Linked DNA regions of Homo sapiens: regions 1, 2 and 4 are each linked to region 3. Evidence: promoter capture Hi-C in 16 types of primary human blood cells and fetal thymus (Javierre and others, 2016). All regions are on one chromosome and are shown on one strand. The core of a region is centred on a gene start or on the middle of the fragment in contact, and the rest is flanking DNA. Distances in the headings are between cores, read along the strand shown. Region 1 holds the start of ZDBF2 (zinc finger DBF-type containing 2). Region 2 has its middle 5.6 kb from the start of SNORA41. Region 3 holds the start of CREB1 (cAMP responsive element binding protein 1). Region 4 overlaps NDUFS1 (NADH:ubiquinone oxidoreductase core subunit S1).

Region 1 (2,700 bases), core at 103-2,602, 1.3 Mb before region 3:
CCTTCCTCCTAGGGTTATGGGTTTTATTAAACAATGCACTTATCTCAGTTGAAATGAGGACAACCTGCACAGCAACATCCACGTTGTAATACGTGGAGGTAATGACAACCAGGTCTGTACTGCCACCCGGTCAACGAGAGTTTATAAGATGCATCTTGATTTCACAGATGTTAAAATGTGGGGAAAAACATGGCTTAGCATCTGTGAAATACATAATGTCATGGTGCTTCGATCAATGTATAGTGGATTTTCTATAATTCCAAAGTTGGGATGTGGAAAAAACTTGCCTTAAAAGAAATCCGTACTTTTTGGTATGTTAAATCTAAGGGAGGTTATAAATCGAACAGTTGCAGGAGCCCAACTTTAAAGTGAGAGAAAGATGTAGTGGGGGAAGAAGGAGCTGAGAAATACAGAAAGAATAAAAACAATGGACGCAAAAGCAATAGGCAAGTTTTTTTGTTGTTGTTCTTTAAAGGGACAAAATCACAAGCTTACTAAAAAGGGTAACGACAATTACAGCTACAGCCAAAGAGCAAAGTAGCTCATTTTAAGATTATTTTTACATTAGACATAAGCTTTGCAACAGGGCCTCTCTCCATTTTAGTAAAATTGGTTTAGGTGTTTCAGAACCTTCTTATCGCAGATTATAATTTCATATTCAGTAGTGTGATTCATTTAGGTTTGTGATCTCCGTTACACTTAAACTGTTTTTGCTCACAACTATATTCGTAATGGGGTAGCGCAGTGAATATAATTGCATGACCTAATGTTGTTTGTTAATATTTGTAACCCTTTAATGTGCAGGATAGATCTTTGAATACCTAACTTCCTTAAGCCTCAGTTTTCTCAATTTGTCAAAGGGGGACAATAATAGGATTCATTCAGAGTTACTCTGAAATGAAATGCAATAATGTATAGAAACCTTAAACGGTGCCTAGCACAGAGCAAGCGCTCATTGAACAGCAGCTTTTGTGAGATGCACCTCACTATGAAATAGGCATGGAAACGGAAACGACTAGCTCTCTTAGCCCCGTTTTCTTTTCTACATTCATACGTTGCTTTGAATTGGCAAGCAGTTTTTATTTGGACCCTCAAACGCTAAAACCTTGGTCTCTACTTCGCGTCCCAACTGTGCTTATGAGTCTAGTCATTTTTGTTGGAACGCGATAGATTTCCCAAGCTCCGGAGTGGGGCCCTGACCAGGGAGGAAGTGTCCGCTTTAAGAGCTTCTGGAGGGGAGGAAGGGGCTCCTCCGCCCGGGTGGGAGAGTGAGTGAGTGGGTGGGCGGGCAGGGGGCGGTCCCGCCGCTCCTGCGTCAGAAGGGGTCTGGTTTTCGCACCTTCCCTGACGTCAAACCTCCATCAGGGTTGCAACGCCACGTTGCCTTGGATGCCTGCGTGAGTGGAGTCGCGACTCGGGGCCCGCGTCCTGAGAGACGCGCTCCCGCGCCGCTTCTCGCCTCCGGACCGCAGGGGCCGAAGTCGCCTATTTCTGGCTCCGCGGGCAGCGGGGCCGTGGCGCTCGGACGGTCTGGGATTCGGGCGCCGCCGCGGAACCGGAATAAGAAGGGAGAGCGCCCGGCTCGGTCCTCGGTCTCCACCGCGGCCCGGAAGGAATCCGGGCAGCCTCCGCGGAGGTGAGTGCCGCGGCGGGGGCGGGGCGCGGCCGGGGCGACGCCCGCGGGCGGGGCCTGCTCGCCGGGCGCCCGGGGCGCCTTCTTCCCGAGGGACGCCAGGACCGCTCGCTGGGCTCCCGCGGCCGCCTCGCAGGTCCTCGGCTTCCCCCCACCCCGCGTCCCTTTCTGCCCCTGCTGCGTGAGAGGTGTCGGCGGCTCCGGGCCGGGATCGAGGTGGCGGGGCGAGGGAAGGAGGTGGGGCGCAGGCTGCATTGCGCTTCTGTCCGGGGCCCTGGGTCAGAGGGGCCGGCGGACGAGGCCTCGGGTCCGGGCTTGGGGAGGGGGCGGTCTGCGGGGTCGGATTGAGGGCCGGGAACCCGCGGAGTCTTGCCCCTGGGCACCTGTGGGGCCGAGATCCCGAGCCACCTGTCCACACACCCCCTTCCCCCAGTGCCCTGCGTTGGGTCCAGCTGGCCCCAGACCTAGGCCTTTCCCAGCCTCGGGCGATTATAGTTTATTTGAAAACGTTTGATTTTTGTGTTAATGATTCTTTTACTACCGCCGTGCAACAGTTGTGTAAATGTGGTCGTGTTACGCCATCGTTTTTACTTGCTCCTAAGAAGGGCCTTACCAGCTCCTGCGATTATCTCACGCGATGATTCTTGGTAGCTCGTGAAAAAAATGCATAACAAGATACTGGTTCTCAAGGGACCAAAACCCCACCCCCACCTAAAGGAAATAGCTTGTTTTTGTTTTTCTTTTTTACAGCAATATGCTACGTGTGGGGAGGGGGAGGGACGATGGAGGCAGCCTGTAGCGATCTCATCCTCGAGAGAATCTGCTAACAATTTGGGGGGTATCTTTCCTTCCTTTTTAATTAATACACAAACATATATACGTGTGTTACATAAGGGGTGTTTATTTGCTTTTTTCACTTAATACGTGGAAGACCTTTTCTCTATCGTTTGAACCTAAAGCCTAGAAGGCAAGAAAGCAACTCGTTAGAGAGTTGATAAAGTATCACTGCAGTGGCCAGTGATTTGGATAGAAATAAGCTGAATTCAGGGTAAGAACTGGTTTCTATA
Region 2 (2,700 bases), core at 68-2,567, 1.4 Mb before region 3:
TCCAGGCTGGAGTGCAGTGGCATGATCACGGCTCACTGCAGCCTTGAACTCCTAGGCTTAAGCAATTCTACCTCAGCCTACTGAGTAGCTGGGACTACAGGCATGTGCCACCATACCCAGCTAATTTAAAAAAATTTTTTTAGAGATGGGGTCTTGCTATGATGCCCAGGCTTTGAACTCCTGGACTCAAGTGATCCTTCCACCTTGGCCTTCCAAGGTACTGGGATTACAGGTATGAGCCAACGTGTCCAGCCTGAAACAATATTTTTCATGTTCGGCATCCCTAGCAGAGGGCTGGGCAGTGTGGGAACTCAAAACTGATTCCTTCCGTATCACTTTGTTAGATGAAACAAAAAAACACAGAAGAAGAGAAAATTAGTATAGGGAGGCAATTCAAACATAAAATTGTTAAAAATAAAAGTCATTGGTTTGGGGATTAAGCAAATAATCTAAAAGTTCAGAAGGTCAGAGACGGCTAGAATTGATGACAAGTTTTTTGGAAGAATCAGATATAAAGATTTGGGAAGCAATTAGACAAATTCGTGAGATTTTGCAGTGTGTGTTTGGAATCTTAGATAGGATGGGGCCAGCCTGTAGACATATTTGAATTACAGGCTGGCACATTATATGAGGTTTCCAAACCAGAGAATATTAATGTTAAGACAGCTTTGATCTGGAGGTGATACGAATGAAAGCAAGGAGATCAGATGACTTATAATCCTCACAGATGGAAATGTCTAAATTATGGCATATGTATTCAATGAAATGTTTTATAAACTTTATTTATTTTTTTGAGATGGAGTCTCGCTCTATTGCCCAGGCTGGCGTGCCGTGGTGCGATGTTGGCTCATTGCAACCTCCACCTCCCAGGTTCAAGCGATTCCCCTGCCTCAGCCTCCCAAGTAGCTGGGATTACTTGTGTGCGCCACAATGCCCGGCTAATTTTTGTATTTTTAGTAGAGATGAAGTTTTGCCATGTTGGCCAGGCTGGTCTTGAACTCCTAACCTCAAGTGATCTGCCCATCTCGGCCTCCCAAAGTGCTGGGATTACAGGCGTGAGCCACCACGCCCAGCCTAAACTTTGTTTTTAAAAGTAAGTCTATAGCAACATTGAGAAATGCTTGATATTTCATGGACTATTACTATGAAAAGATATGCTTATTTGTCCATGATTATTCAGTAAATATACTAAGTCACTAGTAAGTGACAGAGGAGGAACACAAGCCAGGGTCTTCATAGGCCAGTTGATGTGTTGGTAACAGAATACGGAAGGTTCTTCATCCCTGCTTTTAGACAGTTTAATCCTATTTCATCAGTGTAATCCTTGCTTCATATTCTCATGAATATGATGAGGTGAGGTGAGGTGATAAGAAAATATGGTGAGGGATAAGAAAATATCACATAAGGGTAAATTTTACCTTGTGTAAATTGAGACTTAAACACTAAAACACTGTTCTAGGCAGAGGTTCTCAAACCTCAATTCTTGATGTCTGTCCACTCACAGGCTCAACACTACATGGAAGCTGCCAAGGCTTGAGGCTTGAACCCTCTGAAGCCATGGCCCAAGCTCTACGCTGGACCCTTTCAACCATGGCTGGAGTGGCTGGGATGCAGTGCACCAAGTCCCTAGGTTGCACACAGCACGGGGACCCTGGGCCCGGCCCATGAAACCACTTTTTCCTCCCAGGCCTTTGGGCCTGTGATAGGAGGGGCTGCTGCAAAGGTTTTTTTGACATGTCCTAGAGACATTTTTCACCATTGTCTTGGTGATTAATATTTGGTTCCTCATTACTTATGCAAATTTCTGCAGCCAGCTTGGATTTCTCCTCAGAAAATGAGATTTTCTTTTCTATTGCATTGTCAGGCTGCAAATTTTCCAAACTGTTATGCGCTGCGTCCTTATAAAACTGAATGCCATTAACAGCACCCAAGTCACCCCTTGCATGCTTTGCTGCTTAGAAATTTCTTCTGCCATGATATGGTTTGGCTGTGTCCCCACCCAAATCTCATCTTGAATTTCCACGTGTTGTGGGGAGGGACCTGGCAGGAGGCAATAGAATCATGGGGGCAGGTCTTTCTTGTGCTGTTCTCGTGATACCCAGTCATGGATATGTTTTACCCATGATTTAGGGTATCTGGTGGGATAAATTTCTAAGCAGCAAAGCATTCAAGAGGTGACTTGGGTGCTGTTAAAGGCGTTCAGTTTTATAAGGGAAGCAGAGCATAAAAGTTTGGAAAATTTGCAGCCTGACAATGCAATAAAAAAGAAAATCTCATTTTCTGAGGAGAAAGTCAAGTCAGCTGTAGAAATTTGCATAAGTAACAGGGAGCCAAATGTTAATCACCAAGACAAGGGGAAAATGTCTCCAGGGTACATCAGAGGTCTTCATGGCAGCCCTTCCCATCACAAGCCTGGAGGCCTAGAAAGAAAAAGTGGTTTCGTGTGCTGGGCCCAGGGTCCCTGTGCTGTGTGCAGCCTAGGAACTTGGTGCCCTGTGTCCCAGCTGCTCCAGCCATGGCTGAAGGGCCAATGTAGAGCTCGGGCCATGGCTTCAGACAGAGGGTGCAAGCCCCAAGCCTTGGCAGCTTCCATGTGGTGTTGAGCCTTCAAGTGCATAGATATCAAGAATTGAAGTTTGGGAACCTCTGCCTAGATTTCAGATGTATGGAAACACCAGAATGCCCAGGCAGAGGGGCAGG
Region 3 (2,700 bases), core at 8-2,507:
TGGATTACCTGAGGTCAGGAGTTCCATACCAGCCTGGCCAACATGGTGAAACCCCGTCTCTACTAACAACACAAAAATTAGCCAGGTGTGGTGGCAGGTGCCTGTAATCCCAGCTACTAGGGAGGCTGAGGCAGGAGAATCGCTCGAAACCGGGAGGCGGAGGTTGCAGTGAGCCGAGATCGTGCCACTGCACTCCAGCCTGGGCGACAAGGGCTAGACTCCGTCTCATTAAAAAAAAAAAAAAAAAAAAAAAGACTTGAAACCCCAAGGAGAGGGCTGCAGAGTTCACTATCAAGGAGAATGGGGACCTAGTGGTGCCGTCCTGAGAGACCTCTGAAAGAACAATTCAGTAGTTTCCAGCCACGGAAGTCCCCCTGCTGGGTTTAGGGTGCAGTGGGTGCGAATCCCTGCTGTAGAAAACAGGCTGAGGAAAGAAAGCGACACAGGATGTTGTCTGGAGAAAGGCGGGGAGGTAGGATGGGGCATATTTCCAGGGGTCCGGGCAGGTTGTGTGGCTTGGAGGCCTCCGAGGGCCGTCGACGTCAGCCATGGTCCGGGCAGAGCCCCGCAAGGTGCCACAGTATCGGGGCCAGCGCCCCCCGGAAAAGCATGCTCCGCTGGCGGCCGCCAGGTTTCTCCGCGGAGTCTCGGAAAGGAAAACCCGTCCCCACGGGGGTCCCACGACGCCCCCGGGTCCCAGGCCCCGGGACGTTGGCAGAGGCGCAGCAGACCTTCTTCCCCAGCCCGCACGGCTCCAGCGGTCCGGCCGCGTCCCAGCCCGGGCTGCCCGTCCCCCGTCTCCCGGCGGCGTCGGAAAGTTCCCGGGGCTGGCGGCGGTCAAGAGCAGAGCCAGGGCAGCCGCAGCCGCCTTCTAGCCCGCCGCTCACCGCCGCAGGGGCAGGCCTGAGCGGGGGTTTCCACCAAGTCGCCGACACCCCTCGGGAATTCCCCCACTGGGCCACACACAAACCCCGCTTCCTCCTTCAAATTTCCGCTGCCGGCTTTACCGATGCGAAAGCCGCGGTGGAGTTTAGACCACTCCTCCCGGCGCCGGGCTCAGCCCGCCTTCGCCTTCCCTCTCCCCGCGGAACCCCTTCTCGTCGCCCGAAGAAACCCGAAGGTCTTCGGCAAGTTCCGTCCCCAGCGCGGGGGCGGGGCCGCTCGAGCTGCTCCGGGCCTAGCTCGGCTGTTTCCGTGCGCGGCCGCTGCGCACTCGGCACTGGGCGGCGCTGGCTGGCTCCCTGGCTGCGGCTCCTCAGTCGGCGGCGGCTGCTGCTGCCTGTGGCCCGGGCGGCTGGGAGAAGCGGAGTGTTGGTGAGTGACGCGGCGGAGGTGTAGTTTGACGCGGTGTGTTACGTGGGGGAGAGAATAAAACTCCAGCGAGATCCGGGCCGTGAACGAAAGCAGTGACGGAGGAGCTTGTACCACCGGTAAGAGGAGCAGGAGGAGGAGGCAGGAGCCAGAGAGAGCCGGGGGGACGGAGGGGGGACGGGGAGGCGCCGGACACCCGCGCTTGGGGCCTTCCCCTCGCAGGAGGGGCCGCGGTAAAGATGGAGCCTCCGCCCGAGCCCCACAACATCGCCGCCGCTCGCAGCGAACAAAGAATAATGGCGGCGGACTGGAGCCAGCGGCGGCCGGGGCGGCAGCGACTCTGCCTGCAGCCAGCGGCGGCGCTCATGGCGGGGGGCGGCGGGCGGCGGGCGGCGGGCGGGGTGGGAGCCGGCGGCCGGGGGTGTGTGCGGGCGGCCGGCCGCGGCGAGCTGGCGCCCGCGTTCCCGCCGCCGCCGCCGGGCCGGGCGCGGAGCCGGGAACCCGGAGCCGCCCCGGGGGAGGCCGCCCGCTCGGCCCGGCGCTGCCCCCCGCGCCGCTCGCTCGTCCGGCCCCCGCCGCCCGCCTCGCCCCCGGCCCGACCCGGCCGGGCCTCCGGGGCAGCCGCCGCCTAGGTGCCGGTGGGGGATGGAGGAGGAAGAAGGCGACAGTTGAGGGCAGAGGAGGTGAAGGTGCCTGCTGCCTTCCCGGTGGCTTCGGTGCCTGCCATGCCCGCTTCGCAAGGGGAAGAGCTGCAACGTCTGACCTACTCTTCTCTCCACTCTTTGTGCAATAAAGTTCGAAACCCAAGGTTTCCTCTCGTGCTGTATTTTATTCGTGCCCTTTCCCCCCCGCTCCTACACCGTTGAGGAAATGCTGCTTTCTGCCCTGTGTTGCTTAGTTGAGAGATGAGAGCTTGTGCTTTTGGGGGGAATTTTTGACTCCCTCACCCCTTTGCTTTTTTTTTTTTTTTAAAGTCAGTCATGGAAATGCATGCTTTTTGGGAGAAAGGGTGCTAAGAAAAACATTTATAATAACTTTTTAAACTGTTGGGATCTTATAAAAGGGAAGCTGGTGTTTGAAAACAGTTTCGGTTTTAACCCTTTTTAATAAGGTAATCATCACTTGAGATCTATCATTCTGAAACACTTCGTTGGAACGAGTATCAGCCGATGTACTCTTGTTTTACATCATTTCGCGGGGTGCAACCTTGCCAACCGCGTTTGGGTCATCTGGATCTCCCCTCACCCTCCGTCCCACTCCCCCTACCATATTTCCCACGAATTTCTGTGTGAACTTTAATGAGAGATTGATTTAATACTACTACTAAAAATAGACATTAAAGTATCCATTATTTGTCTCATGCAGTAGGTAACCCCCGTCTTGAGATTG
Region 4 (2,700 bases), core at 9-2,508, 1.4 Mb before region 3:
AGTTTTCTACCTTCTACAGCATGGTGTAGAATTTTAGGTATCAAGTACCTTAGGGGCTTTCTCAATTTCAACAAGGCACATCCTGCAGTTTCCAGCAACAGACAACCTTTCATGATAACAGAATCGAGGGATCTGCATGCCAACCTTCTCACAAGCCTAGAAGTAAAAAAAAAAAAAAAAAAAAAAAAAGCATTAGAATAACCTGACTTCACTGCTGTTATTGCTGAAACACACACATACAGCATCTTATTACTTCTATCTATCTATCTATCTATCTATCTATCTTAATTCATTCTTATTTCAGTCCCTTTCTTTGCCTTTGATTCTAACCCGTCTCCTCTGAAGCTGCCTCAGAGGATCTCAGGATCCTTGGCGTGACTTCACCTTATGTGGAAGAAACTGGATAAAGTATCCTTCCACTGTGCTGAAGACTTGACTTCCCACATCCATTTTGAACCATTGTCCACAATGTCCCCAGTGGTTTCATACCTGGACTTCTTCTTTGCCTCGCTCCCCTCCTTTGGATTAGAGATTTCACTACACATTATCTAGCTGGCTATCTGTCTTTGGCTCCTATATGCTACCCAGGACTCACCTCCCACTGTGGCTGAAGGTTTTCCCAGTTTCTGTTTGCCCAGTAAGGGGGATTATCCCTGCTCTGCCAATTATCACCTACCCTGCTCTGCAATTTCTTCCTCCTTTTAGTCTATAAACATGTTCAAATTTCCTCTAGAGTTAGTTCCTCATCCTCAGCCTTCATTCTAAAGCAATCTCATCAATTTCCAGTGTTTAAACTATTTAGTTAGCAAAAATGTGTTGAGTCTTTCCTTTGTGCAGGATGCAGGTATAGTAGTGAAAAAGACAGATAGTGTCCCAGCCTTCATCCTAGCTGACATTCCTTATGCTGATTATGTCCAAACCTTAATCTGCAGCCATGTTAGACCTCCACTTCTCCAAGCTTCAGATTTACAGGTATTTGCATGTGTATGTTCCACAGACAGCTTAAATTCAAATGATTTCTCTCCCCTCTATACACTCCAAAATAACCTAACAAATGCAGAAAACCACAAGAATTCCTCCGGTCTCTTTGAGTTCTAAAGAACTATTTGTCTGTGGCTCTACTGAAACTTCTTTTGTGTTTTTTTTTTCTCACTGTTAAAGCAATATTGGGAAGTTCTGTACGACGGGGGAAAAAATCCCTCGGGTCTTCATCATTCCTGAAGGCCTGTCTACATTTCATTCTCCCTTGAATCTACTCTCTTGTTTTCATTCCCATTGACACTATCTATTTTAGGGCTTTTGTAGTATCCTGTCCCAATAATACAAAATGCTTTTTCCTTGTCTCTTATTCCAGTCTTGCTATTCTCCAAATGATCATCCTCTACAGTCGCTGTCACCCTGTTTAAATAGGCAACAAAACTCCTGATGGATCAAAATATAAGCTCTTCTGCATAGCAGATACTGTATTTCATGACTGGACCTTCCCTTCCTCAATAACTTGATTTCCTGTGATCTCATCTTCTACTTATACCTTATGTTTCATCAATATTAAACTATTTGAAGCTTTCAAAATATGACAAGCTATCTGCCTTAACTTTTTCCATAGGAAATGCAAGCATGTCGTTCTTGTTCACAATATGAACACACCTGTTCATCCTTTAACACCTCCTCAGGGATGACCTGAGGCACCCAATACCTCTTTCTACTACCTCCTATCCCTGCCACAACTTTTCACTGTACCTTGAACATACATTTATATCATATTTTGTGCTTTCATGTCTGTGACTGGCAGATAGTCTAGAAATGACTGCTAAAATGAACAAAGAACATTTAGATCTGTGACAACTTACAAATGGAGTGAAGCATGACTTCTCTATGACCAATTTATTATTTCTGGAGGAATATGAAGAAATATTTAGAGCATGAATGTAAGCACATGCTACCCTCCATTTACCTGCTTTGTAGGATATATTCCTATGAATATTACTAACCACAGAAAGGTTATATGAAAATGAAAAGCATTAAGCAGGCCCACAACAAATGGAGGTTATTTTTTCACAAACTTACCTATAGTAACTAATTTAAGTTACTTCAAATTTCTTTTCTTTTTTTTTGAGACAGAGTCTTGCTCTGTTGCCCAGGCTGGAGTGCAGTGGCACAATCTCGGCTCACTGCAACCTCCGCCTCCTGGGTTCAAGCAATTCTCCTGCCTCAGCCTCTCGAGTAGCTGGGATTACAGGTGCGCGCCACGATGCGCAGCTAATTTTTTGTATTTTTAGTAGAGAAGGGGTTTCACAGTGCTGGCCAGGCTGGTCTAGAACTCCTGAATGATCCGCCCGCCTCGGCCTCCCAAAGTGCTGGGATTACAGGCATGAGCCACTGCGCTCGGACTTCAAATTTCTTAATGGGTATTCATTTGGAATGAAAAGTGAAACAAAAGAACTACCATAATTCACTAAAAATGCCACAAACAAATATATGATAGCTCACTTTGAAGTGCCAAGATTTAAAATGAAATAATTTTAATATAACTTTGCTGTGTATAGTTATTTTAAAGAATTATTTACTAATAATCAGTATAAAGGAAATAAATTAGTATTTTTAAAAAAATCAGAACACACACACAAAATAGTTAGAATGTATGCCTACTTGGAGGACGGTCGTTCCCGGTTCCACCATGACAGACTGACCATCAACAAA

Evidence for each region. Contacts are between HindIII fragments. The CHiCAGO score rates a contact against its expected background, and 5 or more counts as called.
Region 1: the fragment with the promoter of ZDBF2 here is called in contact with the fragment with the promoter of CREB1 in region 3 in 1 of 17 cell types (fetal thymus); the score reaches 6.2 in fetal thymus.
Region 2: a contact is called between a fragment that was not itself captured here and the fragment with the promoter of CREB1 in region 3, in 1 of 17 cell types (neutrophils). The highest score is 5.3, in neutrophils.
Region 4: a contact is called between a fragment that was not itself captured here and the fragment with the promoter of CREB1 in region 3, in 1 of 17 cell types (neutrophils). The highest score is 5.8, in neutrophils.

What each region holds. Positions count from the first base shown.
Region 1 is chr2:206,273,311-206,276,010 of GRCh38, forward strand. ZDBF2 (zinc finger DBF-type containing 2) reads left to right here and starts at 1,353. Exons shown (of 5, transcript NM_020923.3): 1 at 1,353-1,636. RefSeq lists silencers at 1,248-1,307, 1,588-2,047 and an enhancer at 1,711-2,210. The HindIII fragment of the contact is 6,855 bases long and covers 574-2,700 here.
Region 2 is chr2:206,166,491-206,169,190 of GRCh38, forward strand. No RefSeq gene overlaps it. Among named protein-coding and RNA genes, the nearest start is that of SNORA41, 5.6 kb to the left of the region's middle. The HindIII fragment of the contact is 5,085 bases long and covers 1-2,700 here.
Region 3 is chr2:207,528,705-207,531,404 of GRCh38, forward strand. CREB1 (cAMP responsive element binding protein 1) reads left to right here and starts at 1,258. Exons shown (of 8, transcript NM_004379.5): 1 at 1,258-1,430. It overlaps LOC124907970 (a long non-coding RNA gene), which reads right to left and starts at 893. Exons shown (of 3, transcript XR_007088060.1): 1 at 732-893. RefSeq lists silencers at 627-806, 1,477-1,606, 1,637-1,686, 2,397-2,566 and enhancers at 827-1,026, 1,287-1,386. The HindIII fragment of the contact is 5,804 bases long and covers 1-2,700 here.
Region 4 is chr2:206,149,770-206,152,469 of GRCh38, forward strand. NDUFS1 (NADH:ubiquinone oxidoreductase core subunit S1) reads right to left here. Exons shown (of 19, transcript NM_005006.7): 3 at 2,650-2,700; 4 at 49-156. Among named protein-coding and RNA genes, the nearest start is that of NDUFS1, 8.3 kb to the right of the region's middle. The HindIII fragment of the contact is 605 bases long and covers 957-1,561 here.